Linked DNA regions of Homo sapiens: regions 2 and 3 are each linked to region 1. The links are contacts of gene promoters, found by promoter capture Hi-C in blood cells and fetal thymus (Javierre and others, 2016). All regions are on one chromosome and are shown on one strand. The core of a region is centred on a gene start or on the middle of the fragment in contact, and the rest is flanking DNA. Distances in the headings are between cores, read along the strand shown.

Region 1 (2,926 bases), core at 250-2,749:
CTGTGCCTCTTAAACTTTTCCAATAAAGTATCTCAAGGAAATATACTGTACAGAATCCTCCTAGTCTCCAAGTTGAGGGCAGAGTTTCCGGAGATAAACTTCAAGAAAGTTACAAAAAAAATTTTTTTTAAACCAACACTTCATACAAATTTTGGCTTCTACCCCATAGCGTACTCAGGCTCCTTTTAATACAAAAGCTGCTCTGTTGCTTCCCTCAATAAAATTTACCACGTTTATTTCATGGCTTCACATAATCTGTAGCACAAGGCTCCCTAACTCCAGGGCACAAGTCACCTATTTGAGAAGGAAGGAGTCAGAGTTTTACCCACTAAAACATTTTTTTTTTCTGGAAGCCAAAGGTCTTTCTTGGAATATGTAGCTTTTAAGGAGTAAATATACACTTAACGACTTCAATATACTCTTAAAAACTTTAATCTTAACACTATAGTATTCTATAAGAGCCTGCTGAATGAGGGCAATTTAGTAAATATTTAGTAAATATTTGGTTTAACTCATCATCCAGTTTTAGAACCATTCCAAATGTTTTTAGATTAATACACGACATTTGTTTTCAACCTAATTTTCCCTTGACGCACCGCATCCCCTTCCACTAGTCTAGCAGCCCCATGGACAAACCTTTCTCCTCTCCCTCGTTATTCCTCTGTGATAAATTCACCCTGTCTTCCCACAAAGATCCTTCTTCCAAAACCCAGATCCCGGGCGACGCCTCTCCGCGCAGAAGCCGCGGGAGAAGGAGGAGAAAGAGGAGGAGTAAAGCAGGCCCTCTCGACGTCGGCCTGTGGGGAGCGATGCCGACAAGCAGGAGCGGTCCCGGCTTCGGAAAGGGCCCACCCTGAGGAATGGTCCGGCCGGGCCTAGCGAGGATGTCCCTACCGCGATGCTGGTTCCGTTACCCAGGGTGGACAGGCGCGGAAGCGGGACGGGGAAGAGCGATAGTTTCGCGGCGTTTGCCCAGCCTCAACCCCTGGGATGCGGGTGAGAGACATGGAGGACTGGTCAGAATTTGCGCGTCCCTGGGGCCGCACAAAAGGCTCCCAGCCGGCCTCCCGCAATGTCCTCACCTGTACCTGGCAGCCGACCCCCTGGATCCGCAGCGCCGCCAGGAGAAGTCCTGCGCAGCGCTGGGAAACGACAAAAGAAGGCAGCCTGACGGGCAGCGACAGCCACAGCAACAGCAACAGCCCCACTGCCGCCGGGGATTCCAGGTTCGGTTCCCGGGAACGAGTCCTGCCCCTCTTCTTTTGCCCCGCCTCCGCCCCAGAGGGGCGAGGATCCCGGATGTTGCCTCCTCGGCGCTGTGAATCACCGCCCTTTCTTCTCAGGCCCCAGCCCTTCCGAATCCGCTACGGGTGCTGCAAGGCCTGGGAAGAGTTTCGATGTCTCTAGGGTGGCTAGAGCGTCCTCCCGCGCTCAGTCGCGCTGCAGGTGACGGCGCCCGGAGGCTGTCGGGAAGTAGGCGGGGTGACGTGTGGTTGACGAGCTCGGCGGCGGGTTTGCTGAGATCTGTGGCCGGCGGCAGCTGGTGCGGGGGGCAGCTGAGAGCGAGAGGTGGATCGGGGCGGTGTGTGGCCAGGGCCATGACGGGCAATGCCGGGGAGTGGTGCCTCATGGAAAGCGACCCCGGGGTCTTCACCGAGCTCATTAAAGGATTCGGTGAGAACCAAGGGGACCGTCCTGGGCCTGGGGTCACGGGAGGAGGCCCAAGCTGGGCATGGAGTGGTTCCCTGCGGCCACCGCCGCCCCGCGTCTGGAGAGGTGACTTCAGGAACCTGGAGTCCGGGTGGGGGAAATGTAGATGTTCTGCCCTCTCCTCAGCTCGAGACAGTCGCGTTTCCACAGTAATTTGTAGAGCCACACCACGAGGGCAAGGATCGTGTCAGTCTTGTGCCTGCTGCATCCTCAGGACCTGGCACCCAAATCCTGTAATTGACTTGAGGGCCCTCGCTCCCCAAGCTCTTAAGCACGTATTGCCCTTTGCACTGCCCCTTCTCTGCGGCGCGCACCTTATCCCGGGCTGGTGAGGTCAAGTGCATTGCTCAGGCCATTAGTCCTGCAGAAGCCACCCTAGGGTGCGCCTTCTCAAGGGTGAGGTGTCTGCGGCTCAAGCCGCCCAGGAACTCGAGATTCTGGTTATTCAAAGCAGAACGCCTTGAATGTGTGAATAGCTCTTCGGGACGTCCACACACGCTGACTGCGTGGGCCTGAAAGGCCACTTCACTGGTTCCGCTCTCTGCTCATTTCTGGCTTCCGGTGAAGTGAGTTTTCTTGAGCTAGTGTTCTAGACTAGAGGCCACATGCTTTCCTCACAGTTTCTCTCTGGCTGTATTTAGTGCCTTTCGTCCTAAATAATCAACACATTTTACTTTTTATCCTTCCCTATTTATCTTGTTCTTAGTCTCTTCTTTGGACAGTACGTTTTTATCTATTTCCCAAGTGTTATTGACTCTACGATGTTAAAACTTTTACGCGGGATTAACAATTAAACGTTGATGTAGATATTGCCTGTTGTACACAGCTTAATATTTGGAATGTCATTTATCAAGCATATGTTGTTCATCTTCTATATCTCAGGCACAGTGGTAAGGATTGGGAAATTTTCTTTTTTTTGTTTGAGACAGAGTCTCGCTCTGTCGCCCAGGCTGGAGTGCAGTGGCGCGATCTTGGCCCACTGCAACCTCCATCTCTCGGGGTCAAGCGAATCTCCTACTTCAGCCTCCCGAGTAGCTGGGATTACAGGCACGCGCCACCATGCCCGGCTAATTTTTTTTTTTTTAGTAGAGACAGGGTTTCACCATGCTGGCCAGGCTGGTCTCAGCTCCTGACCTCGTGATCCACCCGCCTCGGCCTCCCAAAGTGTTGGGATTACAGGCGTGAGCCACGCGCCCACCCAAGGATTGGGAAATTT
Region 2 (2,926 bases), core at 181-2,680, 310 kb after region 1:
ATGTGACTTTTGCTTAGTTGAACATTACAGGAAGTTTTATACGTGAGATATTGTAATTCAAATTTAAGAGTTTATCCTGTTTTTGCAGTACATTCCAATATCCCATTTCAACTATCAACTGCTTCTCTGCTCTTCCTTTTCCTCTTATGTCTCAGAAACAGTCAAAGCTCTTGAGCTCTTCTTCCTTGAGTACGAGTACAGTGACAAACAGGCCCAATGCAAAATTAGTCTTTACCGGTAGGTCCTATTCATTCAGGACTAGTAGGTCCTGGCCAGTTCATTGGCCAGGTTAATGAACTGATAAATTAGAGGGTCACCCACATAGTGTGATTAAAGAAGATACTGAGAAATAAATGCTCTCTGCTCGGAAAAGGTAGCTCACTCATTGTTTTTTCATTGTGTCTACATTTCTCAGTATGATTTCTTTCTTTGTATCTAGAAGGACTTTCAACTTTAAAGAGTCTATTACTGAGAGACAATTAGTAATACTGTCTATTTTAGCGATATCAACAACTATGGCCTGGTGCAGATGAGTTGAGAACTTTCTGAGAGTAAAACGTTCTAGGGAAGGGAACATAATTGGCTTGAGGGACTATTTTCATGTTTCTTTTATGAATGTTGTACATGACAATATTTAATTAGATATTTTTCAGTGGCTGAGAAAAATACCCTGAAGTGCTTATAAATTTTTTAATGTGTAGCTAGATGTTTTTAAAGAAATTACTTGCAATAATGAAACGTATGTTGTGTTTCAGGAAATGAAATGGAAATAGTCCAATTTCAGCCAACTCACAATTTAAAGAGGTCTTGTCTATTGTATTGTCTTTTATACATCACATCGCAAAATATTAGTTACTTTAAGATAGAGCTACCTTATTTAGAGTCAATGCCCTTGTTAATTTGATTTGGATTTACTTGCAGTAAGGAATAACTAGAGTGGATTTCTTTGGAGGATTGCTTGCTTTGATTTTTTTTTTTTTTTTTTTTTGTTAAAGCCTACTGGGCCAAGAAGCTTAACTAATACTTTCCCCAGGTGTAACACTTCTTTGTATTTATTCCCTGGTTTTCTCAGTTATTTTCTTATTGGAAGTCAAAGCATATGGTAATTATAGAAATAAGTTATCTGACCATCATCAGCCTTGTGGGCTTTGGTGGAACAAAGGAAAAGGTGATTATATCATTTTGTGGAATCCATGGATGAAAACTGTAGCTACGTTTGCATTAGGAAAATAGTTACCCGAAACAGATAAACTTACCTATGGGAGTTTCCAACTCACTTAAAGAGTCTACTCTAGGAGATCTAAATTTAGCAATCACCTTAAGATAGTTTTCATTTCCCTAGTTCTCGATTTGTATAGATCACTGCATCTTCCACAAGTTGATTCTATGTAGGTTTATTGCCTAAAATTGGCTTTCTCAAAAGTAACTGCTTTTACTAAGTTTACTTAAAAAACATTTGTTAAGTTACATGACAATAATCATTCTCTCAATTTTATCTTCATTTGTAGAATGACTCAGGATTAACAATAGAATTTAGGTATCTAATTGGAAAACCAGTGTGTGAAATTCTGGTAAACAAGCAATAAAAATAGTAAAGTGGTAATGTTGATTTTGGTAATGGTGCTTGTGTGTTTGGAAGGACTGTATACAAAAGCAACATTTAAATTATTAATATTTTTGGTACATAGCTTATTAAGGAAATAATTTTCAGCTGTTATAAAAGTAATCACTTGGATATAAAACAAAAATTATTTTTTAAAGAGCTCCACCTGTTATAGATTTTAAAAAGTCACTGTTTAGCCAATGTTTTAAAGTCTATTTATTTGAATAAATGAATTATGAAGCTTTTGAAGTCTATCAATTGATATTGATATCAATGTATTAAAAGCTCTAGACATTCTATTGTCTTATAATACTCAATTTTAATACCAGTTTCTAATTGATATAGGACAGAAGTCATTTTTATGACAATTTGTAGTTTAGGAAGCTATAGTCAATTATCTTTATAGGTATATATAATGTATCATTTCAATTCCAGAAAGTATCTTAGGCTCCTAGTTTAATTCGTTTCTCAGTCTGTAGTAAAATAATCTACATTTGAATCTTGGCTTTTGCTCTTACTTAGTTAATATTATTGTGACTTCAAATAAGCTAAGCTGTGGCTAATGTTTTCTCATCTATAAAACAGTTGATAAGAGTACCCATTTCATAGGCTTACTGTGAGGACTAAATGTATTAATTAGAATTAAGTCTAAATTTTTGAGTACCATGCCTGGTACATAGCAAGAGGGCATTAAAGATTAACTGTTATTATTATTTGATTATAGCAAATGTATTACTGAATAATGCTGGAGGCAGAGAGATTTAATTCCTAATCCTGTATTTAATTCCTAGTCCTAGAATTTTTTAGTTAATGATGTTGAGTATGTTAGTTAACTTGTTTGAGCTCAATCTTAACAGAAATCTAATAGAATTGTTGTGCTGAATAAGCTAGTTATTTAATGTAACTTATTAGTACATATTTTGTCATTATTAGATGTGTGGTAAATGATAGGTCAAAAAAGATTGTAATTAATGGCAGAGAAGTAAAGTAGTTGCAGATAACAACTGTAAAATGCTGGACTGAAAAGACACTGAAAACCATTGAAAAGCAAACAGAAGCCTGCAACTGGAATGGCTTTGAACACTTGCAATTGCAACGGTTTTAAATTGTCAATTTGCAGATTATGGGCCAAGAATGATGATCAGTTATCACAGATATGGCTGTGGAAAATGGTGGTGAAAATAAACTGCAGCCTTACCAGCTAATGATGCTGAGATCAATATGGGACTAGGTAAGTAGCCAGAAATTTAAAGGAAAATCCTGACAGCATAAAATCCCCAGAAAAAGTAAGACACAAATTCAGAACATAAGCTGTGTAAATTC
Region 3 (2,926 bases), core at 160-2,659, 270 kb after region 1:
ATGTTTTGAGTTGGTTATCTGAATGCCTGTCTTATTTGCCTTTGCTTTCATGAGATAAGAACTATAATGATTCACCTTTGTTTCCATCTAGGACAGACTTTTCCATAGAGTGGGTGCTAAGAAAACATTTAATTGAATTTAATTAAAGAGGCTTTGGCATAGTAGGAAGTTCACTGATCTTGGAGACAGCGATTTGGTTTCAAGGCCAGGCTTTGGTCAGGATGCTTCCTTTCCAGCTCAACTAGGACTTTCCCTCTGGGGAGCCTCCTTGTCACCCACTCTACCCTGCATTCTGAATGAGCTCATTCTCTGTGTTTTCCCACAAACCTGTTCTTCCCTTTCTGGGGCACTTAGCACTATCCTGTGTCTCCTCTGTGAGACAGTGAATGCGCTGGGTTCAAACTCTGTCCTCTGAATCCTGTATTTGCAGAGATTAGTACCCCCCATAGTGCTAAAAAAATTGTTACATGAATAAATGGTTTAACTTCTCTGTGCTTAAGTTTTTTCCATCTAAAAATAATAATGTTAATAATACATAATATTGGGGTTTCCAAGAACCTCCCTTAGAAAAAAGGCTACCCCCCTTTCATAAGAACAGCAGTTGTTTGTTATTGAACACTTATTAGATGTTGACTGACCAGACGCTTCACATATATTACCATTATGTCCTACCCTGGTGCCACAATGAGATAGGTGCTATTGTTCCCATTTTATAGGTGTTTGGAGAGGCAAAGGCACTGCCCCAAATCAATAGCAAGCAAGTCAATGGCAGAGCTGGGATTTGAATTCCAAGTCTGTAATTTTTCTACTGTAGAATTTAGTCACATGCGTTTAGTGTTTCCTTAGGAAGCTCCTCTTGGTTTGCCATCAACAGGTCTCCTCATGGCTATCCTGGCTGTGTCATGATGGTCTCCAAAAGTTTGACTCTGAAAGTTAAGCTACTGAGATCCAGTCCCTAATGCATTACTGGGTACATAGTAAGTGTCTGCTCAATATACAATTGTTGAATAAAATAATGAATTAGTGAATGAAAAGCTTATAGATGATACTAGTAATTTATGAAATAAACCAAGAGACTCTTCATGTATGTGTGGCTAAAGAGTTTTTAAACACAACTAACCTGGGCAACATAAAGAAACCCTCTGTCTCCAAAAATACAAAAATTAGCTAGGAGTGGTGGTGTGTGCCTGTAGTCCCAGCTACTCAGGGGGCTGAGGTGGGAGGTTCATTTGAGCCTACGAGGTCGAGGCCGCAGTGAGCTGCAATAGTGCTGTAGGACTTCAGCCTGGGCGACAGAGCAAGAACCTGTCTCAAAACAAATAAACAAACAAACAAACAAACACTCACAACTTTAGATGACATACAAATATTCCTAGAAAGGTAAAACTGGAAGTGGATTCTCATTTAGTAGTGGAAAATGTGAAATAAGGGATTGATTAGTTAACTAGGGATCTTATTAAAAATGAACATTTCTACATTCCATTTACAGGGTTTGTTATATTTAAACCCTCCGTTTGTAAATGTGATATACAATGCTTTGTGAATTGTAAATTGCTAATGATACACTTAATATATTATTAAGGAATTGTTTTCTTTTATGTGAAAGTTGAAGAAAGAGTCCTTTGGGATTTGTTGAAACTCAAGGAAGAGAACAGTTTTGAGACTCAGGAAGATCTAAAAAGAAAAGGGCTCTTTTATGCAGGGAAAATAATGTTTTTCTGTTTTTCATTTTTATTTTTATTGTCAGTGTCTCCTTAGAAACAAATCTGGTTGACTAAGCTTTAACAAATAGATTCAACTGGAATATTTGGCTATTTCAGGGTAGCGACATCCTTAGATTCCGTTAGGTGAGAGTGGTGTATTGTCACGATGCACACGAAGTCTGAAAGGACAGCCAGGAAATTCTGAGCAAGCCCGCAGTGTTCAGGATGAGCAGCAGCTCTGGGGAGCCCGGGCTGATTCTAGTTGCCTGTCATGCTTGTGACTCAGCAGCCCTTTGCTTCCCTCAGTTGATTCCTTCCTGTTCCATCACTGATTCGTTACGCCTTTCTTCTCTCCTTGTTTCTGCCAGTGGCTTCTGCTTATTGCGTTATTTTAAAAAATACAAATAAGAAACCATTAGAGGCTTACTGTGTGCCAAACAAAGTCTCATTTTTACACTCACAGGGTATAGGGTGTCTTTCTTTTCTGATTATTCATTACCTTAGTCCCCAAATTGAGTGCACAGGGAGCCCCAAAGCCATCACATAAGAAAATATTCATGAATGAACAGAAGACTATATATTTCCCACCCAAAACTCCTCCCCACTTATTATTAGTCTTGGTGATTAACAAACCACTCATATACAATGTAAATGTAATTCAAAGCATAATAGTAAAATTTGCAAAAGATGTAGAATTTAATGAAGTTGTCAACAGAAAAGCCATTGATAAATGAGAATTTGGGAATGTGGCCAGTTAACAATTGGAGAAGATAAAATTGACGTGGATCACAACATAATAAACATGCTAAAAAAGAAAGATTTGAGTAGTAAAGTCTTGGAATAATTTTAGAAGTCATGGAATATATTCTTAAAAATGCGAAATGCAACGTGAACCGTATTATCCTAGCATTTTGTTTTGTCCTCCTAACTCCATGACTTGACACTTTGTTCATTCTAATACTTGGTATATACTGAAAGCTATAATCTAAATATTAGTAATATTTCAAAATACTTATTTTTATAATTCTAATTTTATTTTTAAGATAAAGTCATAATCATACTTTTGACCATTTGCTCAAAATTTCTGGACTCTGTTTTAGTGGATTTATTTTAGGTGCCAAACAATTATCAATTGCCCTTTTTTAATGACAACCTCTTATGCTATTATTTTTCTAATTTTACAGGTGAGGAAAATGAAGTCCAGAGAGGTTCACTCACTTGCT

Evidence for each region. Contacts are between HindIII fragments. The CHiCAGO score rates a contact against its expected background, and 5 or more counts as called.
Region 2: a contact is called between a fragment that was not itself captured here and the fragment with the promoter of UCHL5 in region 1, in 1 of 17 cell types (neutrophils). The highest score is 5.8, in neutrophils.
Region 3: a contact is called between a fragment that was not itself captured here and the fragment with the promoter of UCHL5 in region 1, in 5 of 17 cell types (monocytes, neutrophils, M2 macrophages and 2 more). The highest score is 10.5, in monocytes.

What each region holds. Positions count from the first base shown.
Region 1 is chr1:193,057,933-193,060,858 of GRCh38, reverse strand. It overlaps UCHL5 (ubiquitin C-terminal hydrolase L5), which reads left to right and starts at 1,499. Exons shown (of 11, transcript NM_001199261.3): 1 at 1,499-1,674. The coding sequence starts at 1,599. RO60 (Ro60, Y RNA binding protein) reads right to left here and starts at 1,247. Exons shown (of 9, transcript NM_001173524.2): 1 at 1,083-1,247. RefSeq lists enhancers at 348-1,080, 1,148-1,677, 1,081-1,813, 1,838-2,147. The HindIII fragment of the contact is 5,498 bases long and covers 1-2,926 here.
Region 2 is chr1:192,742,935-192,745,860 of GRCh38, reverse strand. No RefSeq gene overlaps it. Among named protein-coding and RNA genes, the nearest start is that of MIR4426, 28 kb to the right of the region's middle. The HindIII fragment of the contact is 832 bases long and covers 1,015-1,846 here.
Region 3 is chr1:192,787,420-192,790,345 of GRCh38, reverse strand. All of the region lies in intron 1 of LOC105371665 (a long non-coding RNA gene), which reads left to right. Among named protein-coding and RNA genes, the nearest start is that of RGS2, 20 kb to the left of the region's middle. The HindIII fragment of the contact is 744 bases long and covers 1,038-1,781 here.